Linked DNA regions of Homo sapiens: region 2 is linked to region 1. The links are contacts of gene promoters, found by promoter capture Hi-C in blood cells and fetal thymus (Javierre and others, 2016). All regions are on one chromosome and are shown on one strand. The core of a region is centred on a gene start or on the middle of the fragment in contact, and the rest is flanking DNA. Distances in the headings are between cores, read along the strand shown.

What was found. Contacts are between HindIII fragments. The CHiCAGO score rates a contact against its expected background, and 5 or more counts as called.
Region 2: a contact is called between a fragment that was not itself captured here and the fragment with the promoter of RFESD in region 1, in 1 of 17 cell types (erythroblasts). The highest score is 6.2, in erythroblasts.

What each region holds. Positions count from the first base shown.
Region 1 is chr5:95,641,376-95,648,382 of GRCh38, reverse strand. RFESD (Rieske Fe-S domain containing) reads right to left here and starts at 1,606. Exons shown (of 6, transcript NM_001131066.2): 1 at 1,566-1,606. The HindIII fragment of the contact is 4,150 bases long and covers 1,297-5,446 here.
Region 2 is chr5:96,742,111-96,748,963 of GRCh38, reverse strand. It overlaps CAST (calpastatin), which reads right to left. Exons shown (of 32, transcript NM_001750.7): 16 at 6,208-6,309; 17 at 2,539-2,622; 18 at 1,572-1,619; 19 at 351-446. Among named protein-coding and RNA genes, the nearest start is that of ERAP1, 62 kb to the left of the region's middle. The HindIII fragment of the contact is 382 bases long and covers 5,277-5,658 here.

The DNA of each region.
Region 1 (7,007 bases), core at 357-2,856:
ACTGAATGAAACAGAAAATTAAACAACTCATACAGTTTGACGGCTAGTTGAAAACATCCCCCTGAAAAACTTAGTCGTTGTGTTTCATGTTCTCTTCGAGAAAAATTTTTGGCCTGTCCCTAAAATTGGTTTCTAAAGGTGCTAACTCCATATAAAATTACAAATTAGCTAAATGGATACTCGGTCACTATTAGATTCCTTTCCAACAAAGGAAATAAATTCAAGTGGAATTTAAAAAAATATTTAGTGTAACTCAAATTTCCACAAGACACGGGAGATAAAAGAAACATGAAGTGAAACGTACTTACTTGTCACTCGTCTTGAACCATGACTAAGATGCTTTTACCAAGTGTGGAAACTTTGCCTACACATTATCAGAATGCTTATCTCAAGTATGACACCCTTGCTTTTACATGCAGGGAAGAGAAATGCCTTAGAGAGTAGTTTTGGTATCTCTCTGAATGGCAGAATAATAACAGATAAAACTAGCTGTCCTTTAGTAAATGCCTACTGCTTGGACCCTTTGAATATAATAGTTCATTAGTCTTCACAAAACCGCCAACGGGTAGGCATTAGTTTTATTCAGGTAGCACCCACGTTTTTATAAAAACATGAGGCTTGCAAGTAAACTATCCTGAAGACACAGAAACCTTTTAGCAAAGCAAATATGTATATTGGTGATATATATAGTATTGATATTTATATTTGTCACCAAAGATGGTCCTGAATTAAAAAAAAAAAGGAACGCTAATGTGCAACAGCTATGTTCACGAATGTTTACAATTGAACGCTTGCCCAATAATTTTATATAAAGTCACAGAGCTGCTCTGGAAATCAGCACCATCGTATGATGTTGAATTGTGATCACGAGTGAGCTAGACCTGGGTTTGCATCCCAGTTCTGCGTGATTTGGGGCAAGTTGCTTAACTTCGCTGTGCTGCAGTTTCTTTTACTTTAAGAAGGGCCCGCCACATAGGGGTGTGGGTAAAGCACATAAATGCTTTAACACATGTCAAATGTTTAGAGCAGGCCTAACCGCAGAAAACGCTCACAGCGCGTTAGCTGGCACCTCTAAGGTCCATCCAGCTCTGGCAGTTATCCTGCCTAACTTCAAGTTGTGTTTAACATTTCGGTAAAGACCGCCTGCAGTTCTGAGACTGCACGTGGCTGTCCAGGTGCTGCAAATTCTCGACACAGACTCCAGGAGGCGAGTATCTCCAGGACGGCCGGGGCTGCGGAAGCCCTGGAGCAGCTTCTATACTTTAGAGCTTTCATGGCACAAATGCCATGAAAGCTTGTTAAAAACGACCCGCGTACCCCCCTTAGGTGGCAGGTCTCAGGTGTGGCCCAAGTTTCAAGGTGAACAAGCTCGGTGAGTCTCCTGTGCCTGGGCGGAAGCCCGCCTTGGCGGGTTAACCGTTAACTAACGCTGAACCAAAACCCAAGAGGGCCTCAGGCCCCGCAGCGGCGCGGCCACAGCCGGAATGAGGAGTCCACGCCCGCAGCCCAGCCGGAAGCAGCTGGTCCCGCCAGCCCGCCCCCTGCGCGGCGAGAACAGAACTTACTGTCCCCGAGTCCTCGCTCCGCCTCCGCGTGACGCTACTGCACGAGCCAGAGCTCCAGACGTGCGCGGCGCCTCGACGGGGGCGGGGCGAGGCCGTCCACGTGACCCAAGAAGGCCCGCCCCCGGGACCGCCTCTATGGCATTGCCGGCAGATGACCCTGGTTGATAGAGATCTCTGGCCAACAGCGCCGCGCCAGCACCTTCAAACTGGCAGGCATACTCGTGTACTTGACAAATGTGGATAGCATCAGTTTACTTTTTAGTTGTTTGTTGATCTCATTACATTTATTCAAATTTTAGATGCGCCCAGCGACTTCATTCAGTTATTTACCCTATAAAAATATTTGCAGAAGGTCGTCGCGATGCTGGTAACCCATGTATAAGGATGTTAAGGCCGGGCGCGGTGGTTCACGCCTGTAATCCCAGTACTTTGGGAGGCCGAGGCGGGCGAATCACCTGAGGTCGGGAGTTTGAGACCAGCCTGACCAACATGGAGAAACCCCATCTCTACTAAAAATACAAAATTAGCCGGGCGTGGTGGCCCAGGCCTGTAATCGCAGGTACTCAGGAGGCTGAGGCAGGAGAATCGCTTTGAATCCAGGAGGCAGAGGTTGCGGTGAGCCGAGATCGCGCCGTTGCACTCCAGCCTGGACAACACGAGCGAAACTCCATCTCAAAAAAAAAAAAAATGTTTATTGCTGTGAAGTAGTGAAAATAGCTGAAGTGATAACACGGAGGAATGGTTCAATAAAACACAGCACAACAGTACAGACATGTGAATTACTTCGTAGCTGTGTACTGTATACTCAAAGGACAGGCCCATCATGTAATGAATATTAAAGGCAAAGCGTAGAATACTATATATGGTGTCCTCTCTTTAATGTAAACAATTATTTTTTGAAATACAAACATGCAGGTATGTACATAAACTTTTTCTCGAAAAATCAAAAGAAACAATAGTGGTTGCTTTGGGAGGAGATGGAGAGTTTTCACTTTCATATTATGAACTTTGCAATTTTGCTTTTTTCTCATTGTACTTCCCTGAATTGACAACAACAACAACAAAGAAAACCACCAAAACCCTCATATTTGTGTTCCGAGCTGGGAAACTAGATGAGCCTAAGTTTTTAATTTCCTTGACTACTTTCCAGTGCAGTGATTCTTAACCCTGGCTATGCCTTAGAGTCGCTTGGGAGTTTTGAAAAGTCGTAATGCCCAGTCTGTATGCCAGACCAACAAAATAAAACACAGATTATTTGGGGTGGGAAGGGAGTGGGCAGATTCAATGTATGTTTTTAACTTCCTGAGTGATTCCAGTGTGAACCCAAGGTTGAACACTACAACTTGTATTTAGTATGGTGACATAGTGATCTCAGGCTCTAGGGTGGCCCAATGAACTGGGGCAGCCGAAACCCAGGAACTTTGTCCATTTACCTCAGTGTGCTATATAAATGCCATTTTTTAAATGAGCCTCAACATGTAAGAAGTTGAATAGCTCAGAATAATTTGTTTCCAGTGCTAGTTTCTTCTGTTTTTTTTCTCTTCAATACAGTTTTATGGTGATCAATAATATTTTATTGGGTCATTTCCCTTTTGGCCATTTTTTTCACTGACCCAAACACAAATTAACTATCTAGTTTTGATGTATCAGTTATCAAAGATATAAAATATATTTTGATTTATTGTAATTTCCATTATCTGTTAGTCATCCCAAATGATTTTATTGGCACATGGAAGGTGTTAGTAGTCCCCAGCTTGTCATCGAAGGATTAAATAAGGTTTGCCATTTTAGAAATCCTTTTTTGCTTTGTCATATTCTGGGCATTAAAAAAGGACACATCTTAGATCCATCGACCTTAAATTTGATATTGAATAAACTGAAGACCTCAGTAGTTATACATGCATATACACACAAGTAGGATGAAAGAAGAGAAACTTTCTTTTATCTCTACCAAAAGTATTCATATGGTTAGTCATGTGATGTTTGGAAAGCTATAATGGAGGTCAGAATAAACTACCCTTCTCCACTTCCCAAGTGCACACACACACAAATGCACAAAACCATTCACACACAGGCATGCACATTAGGTAACAGCAAGAACCCATCCAGTCTATTTGGAAGTCATTATTGTTCAGAATAAAGTTCATAATTTCTACTGTTATTTTGCCTTTTTTTTTTCTTTAATAGAACAATGTTAGCAATGCTACCACTAAGTTTCACCTGTGGCCATCTTAGGGCAGGTACTACCTTTTCTTTCCTTCCTTCATTTGTTCTTTTAGCCTTTCCTTTTCCGCGCTTCTAACTTTGGCCTATTAGTGACACCTAGTGGTTCCTGTGGCCAGCTTTCCCCCTGATTTTGGCTCTCAATATCTTCATGTGTGGTTTCAACTGAAAGTTGTGAGCCTAGTCCCTCTGCCGTGAGCATCAGGCTGTTTCTAGGCAGACTTTTCAGGCACCAAGACTCCCCTCTTAGAGAAGTTAAAAACTTGCCTTCAATCCTAAGCCACAATCTGTCTTGACTGCTAGTGAAGGCACCTGTGTGCTGCTAGTTTCACTACAGGGAAGTTTGAAGGGTGTCCACCAATCTGGATTTCCTACTCCTTCACACCAGAAAAGGGTGATAATACTGCCCTTACTAGGCCCTGGAACTCAGATTACATGACAGTGAGTGTGGCTCTAAATACCACCTATGTGCTTATGACTCCTAAATGAATGTCTCCAGACATACGTTTGTTGGGGATGCCTACTTGACATTTCTATGGGGCTATTGTGGCAGAAACAGTGGTGTTCACCAGATATCCCATCAACTACCCCACATTTTCCAGCTCCACTTACAGTTTTTTGCGGCCACATGGCCAGTTTTGAACAATGGGCTGTAGACTGAAGCATAGAAAAGCTGAGATGAGACTTCTCCAGTTGCCTCTTTCTCTGTCATAAGAATTAACAACATTCTGGATGGTGGAGCCTCCACCAGCCTGGGTCCCTGAGTGACTATGCAGAACAGAGACTACATCTCCCCACCAATTTCCTAACTTCCACTAGGCCGTGAAAGTCACATAACTTAAGTGAGAAATAAATTTTTATTATGTTAAGGCCCCTGGAATTTTAAGGTTGTTTTTTATTATAACATACAATAGTTTAACCTGATAATTCATAGCTATCTCTAATTTCATTGTGTTCAAAATCGAAATACTAGTTCTCTCCCATAAATCTGCATTTCTTTGTCTTCTCCATCTCTATAAGTGACAACACTGTCCATCTTCAGGCTTAAGGGAGAAATCTGCATGTCTTCCTTGACTCTTCCCTTTTCCTTGTCGCACCCCTTCCTGCCCGTCTGTAGAGAAAGGAGTTCGCATAGCTGACCTGAGACTGCTATCCTTAAAAAGGTCTGCTTGTAAGGTTGGCCCTTCGCTGACATGTGAGAACTTGGCAGGTAAACAGTCCCTTACTGTCGTGCCAAAGCCCTATTAACCTCAGTAGGAAAGGAACCAGGTTCAAGAGGCCGAAGAAGAGACCTAGAGCCAGCAAACAAAACATGGTGTTTTATTAGGTGCTTACAGAGTCCAGTGGTGGTGGGATGGGCAGGAAAACTGCAACCGCCTGCAACCATCATGCAGTTTATATGGTATTTTCACTTTATACCCTCCCCCTAACAATCTCCACCTGGCAACCTTCATGTATCCCAAAATTCAGGGCCTCAGTCCCCTATATTAGATGTTTCTCATAGATAAAGAATGACTCTTCAGGTTAGCTACTCCCAGATTCCCTAGCTCAGAACATACATTCAGGTGCATCTGCCATATGGGGTCATTCTGAGGGTATGCATAAATTATTACTATCAGGTGAGTTTATCCGACACCTACACCTACACATACAAAGCTTTCCCTAAATAATAAAAGTGATTCCCTGTGCGTAAGCTATTTGTACAAACAATGCACTTGCTTTTCCTTCTGAGATTCTAGAACTTGGTACCTGCTAGGCAGAGGTGCCTGTGACCAATGTCCAGTAAAAACTCTGGCTGCTGAGGCTCAGTCTTTCCCTGGCAAAAACATTGCAGGCATGTTTCTACATTTTCATTTCTGGAGGAAGAATGCAGTCTGTGTGACCCCTCGCGAAAGGGAGAACACTTAGGAATCCTGCACACGAAGTCTTCCATGCTCTGCCTGAGTCTTTTTCTTTACAATCCAGCTGTGTATCCTTACTACGTTTCTGTAATAGCGTAACTGTAATGAGTCCCAGAATCTAGTGAATCTCCAAATGTGAAGGGGGTCTTAGGGACCCTTGATATCCCCCCATATCTAATCCAGCACTGAGTCCTGCCAATTCTTCCTAAAATTTATCTGAAATCACACCGCTTCTTACCTTATCTGCTATCACCACCCTGAAGGTACCATCATCTTTTATTTGTGTTGGACTTTGAGAGGGCCCAATAACACCTTTCTTTTATTTTCTGCCTGAGTTTGGAACCAGTTGAGAGACACAGAAAGAGATCAAGGTGTGAGCTTTATTTAATTATGAACGTCTCAATTGGGGTGGCTTAAACATGCAGCCAAAGGGACTAACAGCCTCCTGAATTAAACTTATGTATCAAAACTCTCTTAAAACTGTCCTCTCTAGCGGACAGACTAGATTGTACCCTCTCTACAGGTACACAAATCTGTAGAAAGAAGAAAGGAGCTAAGCTGAGCATACCAGGAGAAGTGAGTGAAGGTTGGAGATTTGACTAGCTGAAACACTTCTTGTTCACTGCTGATTTTTATCTTCCTGGTGGGACTCCAAGTCCTGAGCATTAAGCAAATGATACACAGCTGACGTAAGTGGGGGTGTGGAGAAGAGAGTCTGATCAGCAAATACCACCGAACCTACATTGAGCCTGAAGCAAAACACTGGCCATTTGTACCAAGCCAGGCTTAGCAAATACACACAACAGAGCTATGTGGGCCCAGCAAAGGCAAACCCCAGAGAGCTTTAGGTGACGTGGGCCTCGGGTGCAAGCTGCTGCTCCTTGACCTTCAACAACATTCAGAACATATTCATTCTGCTACACTGAGTGTTAGCAGAGATAGGGAGGCCACAAAGACCTAAGAAAGCAGGTATAACTAAGACAAGGTCTAAATTATGTCTTTAAGGACTTTGGCCTTTCAGACAGTAGTGGGTAGAGTCAGGTTTGCTGCAGTTAGAGGTAGTGATATTGATGAAACTGAAGCTTCAGGTTCCCATATTTGCATGGGGCCTTCCAAGATCCTGAGGTCCTGAGGGACACTAGTAATGTGTTCACATGGTCATATGCTCTCGCCCTCTCACCCCTACCCCTCACATATATAATTATATATAATTTGGTAACAAACACAAAAATACAGAAAAATACAGGGAAACTCTATTCCCAAACGCCCATTTGAGAGTATAGTACCAATCTGATGCCCCGTCAGTCCCTAATGCTTT
Region 2 (6,853 bases), core at 4,218-6,717, 1.1 Mb before region 1:
GAGAAAGAATGAGTCCGGCGGACATGAAGGAGACTGCAGAAAGGCCACTGCAACCCAGAGGGGAGGGGTGGTGACAGTTCCAATCAGGTCAGTTACAGAAGCTGGGATAAGAAGGAAGGCATGGGTTCCAGAGCTTTCCGAAGGAGTCATTGCAGGACTTCAATTGCAAGAATATCAGGGTTAGGTTGGGGCAGAAAGCACATCCAAAAAGGAAGACAAAAATGACATGGAAAAAACGATGGCATATTGGGCTTTCTAACAGACTGCTTGATGCTAAAACAGTCTGTCTCACAATTTTTTTTTAAGATCACAAACCTCAAAACTAGAGATTTATATGTTTAGAAACATACTTCTGTCTTTTCAGTTGGCTTAGATGGTTTCTCTTTACATTCAGACCGGTCAAAATCTTCTGAAAGTTCATCAATGAGTTCTGATTCACTCCGAGGCTGTAATATAAGAAGTGCTGTATATTACAAGGGGACTCTTTTTTATTTTGTAAAAAAAAAGTTTTCATGGAGCAATTTTTTTCCTGATTAACACATATGAGGCCATACTTAACACCCAAAGCTAATTTATAAAGGGCATATTTTTTCATTTATCAACGTTAAGATAAAATTTTCATGAAACAATTAAGAAATACTAAACACCTCAGGACCAAAGTATTAATGGTTTATTTGGTCAAACATTCCCTTGATGTTTCAGTTTCAGAAGAATTTTGTTCAAATAAAATTGCCTGTTCTCTACAATGAAGATCTGTATAATTTTTTTAAATGTGATTATTATTTTCCTATTTCCTCATGACTTCTCTTCTGAATAAGTCAAAACACGGATGATATACTCCGTTTCTATGATTATGCAGGATTTTGGCAGCAAAGTTCTGCTACCCCTTGTTCTTTCAGGAGAGTGGTATTAGTTTAGGGCATGTGGAGATTGTCACTAACAACAGTAACATGATAGAAGGGCATGTGATTCAGACGCTGGGACTCAGACCAGACAGCCTGAGTTCTAAGTCCTGGGCTTGGCTTGCTATTTTATAGCCCCTTGACCTTGGGCTATTTACATAGGCCCTCTGTGTCTCAATTTCCTCACTGTAAAATGGGAATAATAACAGTACCGTCCTCATTCATTGAGGACTCACAAAGATAATATCCAAAAAGCATTTGGTGCAGTGCCAGGTGCATAGCAAGCGATTAATAAATGTTGCTGATTGTATGTGACAGGTTACTACCAACTTAAGGCAAAATAGAATCATTAGAGAATTTGATCAGGATGGAACTCTAAGTGCTAGCTTAATCTGACTTAAGGGCCCTCTTGACATCAGTTTCTAGTGTGCAATAAATTTTACCTAGAAATTTATAGTCTAGTAATGATTTATGAGGAAGATCATCTTTAAAATATATGGAAAGGAGCTACAGGTATCAGCCAAGTGTTACCATCAGAAGTTCCCCTTTCCTCTGTACTAGGTTAGCATGCAAGTCTGCACAGTGAATTCCAGACTGTCAAAATTATCTTAATTCATACTTTACATGTCTATTGTTCTTTAAGTATCAGAAAAAAATGTATTTCCTAACCTTGGGTTTTTCTTCAGGCTCTGGCAATAGTGGTTTTCCATCTTTATCCTGTAAATGAAATTAAAATTCATTGGAAATGAAATAGAAAATTTTGCTTTCATGTCCCATCAAGTTTGTTTCTGGGAATTCCAGGATATGAAATGTCAGCTAATTTTTTTCTTAGATTTACATGAGTTTGTGTTTCAGATTTACTTTTTATAAAGTATAAAAAAAGGAGTTGAGCTATAAAAATCGAGATGTTACCAAGCAGAATGCACATTTACTTTAAGTTATTAAAAATGTTTTTAATCTGTTGGGTAGAGTAATAGGAAAAAAAAGTTCTTTGGCAATAAAGATGTAGCTATGTTAATCGAAGCTTTTAAAAAACCCCAATTCTCCAACCTAGAGTGAAGAGGTGGATATCATTCCTATAACACTGTTTAGTTTTTTTGGATATGAGGTTTCATAACTTAGAATTGTAACTATATTCCAACATGTGTTTATATGCATGATTTCAAAAGTAAATGACAAATGTAATGACAGGAGTTAGTCTACCATCCTCACCATAATCAAAAACAACAGCAACAAAACCACCTTCACTTAGGATACTGGTAAACCCTCGTGCATTCATATCTACCCCTCAGAAGACCTATGGTGCTTTTATCCATATAGCAGTTAGAAAAGAAATTATCCCCAAATTGTTCCTTCTGAGTTTTGGGATCTATTGTAAGAACTGTTAATAAACGAAACATTTAAATCTGTGGGAATTTAAATGAACACATGGTCACTACTTAGGAAGCCAGGCAGGGACAAACCATCCCTCAAGGGGTCTAACTGTAGGGAGCAGAGAAAAAAAGGTTCAGGGTTTTCAGAGTTAATATCTGAATGGGGGACAGACATGTCCTTTGACAATGTCAAGGGTACAGATACAACAAAACAAGATGCAAAGGCAAGATGCTGTTGTCATGCACTGTGGCTAAAAATTTACCGTGGCTGGTTTTAATCTGTACTCAGATGGGATTGTTTCATCATCCTCACCACACTTCTCTAGTTTTTCTTCTTTAGCTTTTGCCTGATGAAAATGGAGGGGAAAAAAAAAGTAGTTGGATAATGCACATAATGAGATGATATCACTTCCTCTGTGTACTTCTCGAGTGTTATAGAGAAGACCAAATCTGGTAAAAGCATCTGGAAGAGCCTTGTAAACTACAAAGCACAAGACGATGGTGGGCAGCTGTGAGAAAGGGAGCAGTGGGTGACTGAGCAAAAGTAGCCCAGCCAGGGATCCTGGGCAACTGCCCTGTTCTGCTCCCAGCTGCTGTGACCTTGGGAAGCCACTTAGCCTTTATTTGGTCCAGTTTCTTCAGCTGTAAAATGTGGCTACTAATAACCCTTATCTAGCTCACTGACTTGTGAAGATCACCAGAGAAAAGTAAATAAAAGATCCTTTGAAGACAGTAAGCACAGTGCAGCAGTTAGTTGCAATTATTTTAATGGCCTTCATCTGTCTTACTCAACGAGGCAGCTGTCTAAGGAAGGGAGAGGAAACACGACTAATTTTCACATTAAACCCAGTTCAGATATGGGAGAAGCGGCCCATCACAAATCTTGGCTGATCCATGGATAACTTGTTTTACCTCTTTTAAAAGGACTCTCTTCAATAATGCCAGGACTTCTCTAGCTTACTGAACCATGAACAACTAGCTGCATTACAAATAAAAGCATAGTTCTATAGTAGATCACTGACTGCTAGGACACAACACTTGCAATTTAACCTGCTGGTGGGTAGTGTGAAGTTCCATAATATGTAAGAATTTGTACCTATATAAAGGTGTGGATTTAATTTACTAACCAAGGTAGGAGGTTCACTTGGCATATTCCAACCCAACCCACGGCCCCCATCTGCATCTTAGCCTAAGAGTGTGGTTCTTAAACAATTGTAATTAGTAACATTTAAACAGGATACGCACAATAATAGAGAAAGTCAGCTGGTCATGTTTTACAGGAAATATAAAAAACAAAACAAATGAAAACATTTAAACATTAAATGTAACTAAACCCACTGATTGGTTAGTTGATTAATTACTACTTATTGAGCACTTTTAATGGACCAGGCACTGTTCTATGCTTTGGGATTAGTTTCACTGTTTTATAGAGAAGCTCTCATTAAAGGATGAAGTCATGGTTTTCTTTTAAACATTTCCAGTCACGCTCTATTTCGGCATCTGGAGAAATCCTGTCATGGAGCAGCACTCCCCAGGTCAAGGCACAGCGGCCTTCATGAACATCCAGGGTCACCTGTATTAAGACGGTCCTCCCCACTAATCTCAGGCTGTGGACAGTGAAAGTTACACATGCGGCCAGAGCTTTTATTTTCCTCTTTGATCTTTATAGTCTTGAAATGCCTGCTCTGGTTTGTATACAGTAGGCATCGAAAAAAAAGAGCCTACTGAATTGAAATGGCACTAGACTAGGCAGCCACACCTAAAAATGTGGGAGACTTATAATGGGCTATCATTAGAGAATAAAAAACTTTTATTTTATGTTATGGTAGATGATGGGAATACCAAGTAGGCATGGGTTTCCTCTCTGGAGTATTGTGTGGTTTTCCACAGATAGCTCTCTATTCTGGGGTATGCTGGGGTGGCAGTGGACACTCCTACAGGCTGACAGTGACCTTCCTGAGCCTTCTCATCACATCAGACTATCTAGGATGTAAAGGACCCACTAAGTCGGGTACTAAGAATTCAGGTTAATAATCTAGAGGACTGAAAGATCCTCTTTAGAAACATTCATACTTTGTATATGATTAAAAAGGAAAACTAGTGATATGCTTTGGCTGTGTCCCCACCCAAATCTCATCTTGAATTGTAGCTCCCATAATTCCCACGTGTCGTGGGAGGGACCCAGTGGGAGGTAATTGAATCATGGGGGCGGAGCTCTCCTGTACTGTTCTCATGATAGTGAATAATTCTCACTAGATCTGATGGTTTTATAAAGGGGAGTTCCCCTGCACATGCTCTTTTACTTTCCTCCATGTAAGACGTGACTTTGCTCCTCATTCACTTTCCACCGTAATTATGAGGCCTCCCTAGCCATGAGGAACTGTGAGTCAATTAAACTTCTTTCCTTTATACATTACCCAGTCTCTGGTATGTCTTTATTAGCAGCATGAGAACAGACTAATACAACTATTATGTCATAAGAGTGGAAAAGAGGAGTTCTTTTTGCTGGAATTTTAGTTTGCTGCGACTCTGAAGTTTTCTAGAGGGAACTTAATACATTCATATGCATTCCCAAACTAGTTACCCACATGTTTAAATAACTTATTTTATGTCACTTTTTTTCTTAACATCTGCTTATCTGCTTTTAGTCACTTTTAAGACTCCTTTGATCCTGAGGTTTATGACATGTTTATACCCTCCCTTCCCACATTAATTGTCTCTCCTTAAGTGTCTGTAAGAAGCTTGGGGCAGAAGTGCAATATACTTGTGGCCCTGTCGCCCTCAGGTGGTAAAGCCACAACTCAGCTTGGCCTCCTGACTCCCCCCAGGATTCTGCCAACACCCCGCTTTCCTCAAGATGACACTGCTTCTGTCGGCTACTCTAAGTAATGTATATCTCACATTGTGTTGTAATCAAGTTTCCCTTCTTCCCAATACATTACTTGGTCCTGGAAGATACGAACTGCTTCTCTTGCTCCTCTGCGTTCACCGTCACAAAGCTTATCGTGCCACACTGTGGCCGGTGAGCCCTCCAAGAAAGTCGAAGATAGAAACTGGCCCATCTTAGGCCAGGGCAGTCCCAGACTCAAGGATTGTTGCTGGAAGTCAGGGAGACTCCCCTTCCCTGATGACTCAGAACAGGAAGTGACAGCAGAGATGGGGCATTGTGACAGCAATGCCTGCCAGCACCCCCAGCCTGAGCTGATGGAGGTGGGGCGGGCTCCTGGGGATCCCAGGCTACCTTTCCATCTCCCCACAACACTGCCTTGTCAGGAACCGGCAACTCTCTCCTTTCCTTCCTCTTTCACCCCAGAGGACTGAGTTGAAAAATTCCACAAAAATTATAATTTAATATTAAAACTTTCGTACACCAGATGTAAGCTTGTTTTGGTTCAGAAGGCTTGTTAAGATCTTGGAGTGTGGCGGGATAAACACTCATCAGCATTATTCTATAAATATGCAGGAGCTCTAGTTAGGGTAATTGTTGCTTGATTTTAATTTGAGACAAAATTTTCAACATCTTTCCCCATAGTGATAAATGAAGGATCTTCCCACTCCGTGTATAGACATCTCCTTCTCTTATAAACAGAAGCACCCAGAACCCTTCTGAAAATACAAATTTCCAATTGCCAAACTTCACTATTTCCCACCAGGCATTGCCTCCTTGTTACCTTGTTTAGTCAAGGGTCATTTAAGCTCTAGCAAGGGAGATTCGTGTTCATTTCAAATGTTAAAATTCTAGCTGTTTCACAAGTCAGTCATGTAACTATCCCCCTTAGTTGCTAACCACTCAGCAATAAATAAGGCACAATGAAGAATGCTCACTTTTACTCTCCAATAAAAGTTGTGCGAGAATTCTAAACATGCAGAGTGCATTCGGTTTTGTAATGTGCAGACTAACAAGCTTTGTAAATCAACTCTAAGGTCAGTACCTCATCGACTTCCTTAATTGAGCGGAGGTCGAGCTCAGGTTCTGCTTGCCGGGTGCCCAGTGAAGCCGACAGAGCCTCGAGTGCTTGATCACTCATTGTATCCTGTTAAAAGTAAAAAATCCTGTGCATGAAAAAAGACATCTCTGGAGCCCGAACAATCCATTTACTTCTTTGTAAAATACATTTTAGATTATAAACTGAATATGGATTGGGGAAGTGCTCTAGAAAGGCAATTTTATTTGAAACCTTGCAAAAGAGAGAAAGGAAAAAGAACTTACCAATGAGTGGAAATTGGGGCTAAGACACGTTTCTACAGTAACAGCGTTCTCTGGGGCACACTTCACCCCTTATTTGGTAAGCTAGACATAAAGCTATAGTAATATTACTATAAAATACTCTAAACAAACAAAAAAAAAAGAAGCAAGTAGTAAACTGTTACCACACTATTTTTCTTTTTCTAAAAATGTATCTCTAAAAAGGCTTCTGACAACCTAAGCTTAGGAAGCAGGGAAGCTTGAAGTGGCCCCTGCTGCCTTCTTCTCTGAAGGCACAATGGCTGATCGTTGTAGGAACTCCCACTCTCAGGGGTGTGGTACTCACCACTGTTCCCCAGCCTGCCAGATAAAAATAAACTGTCCACTCCAGG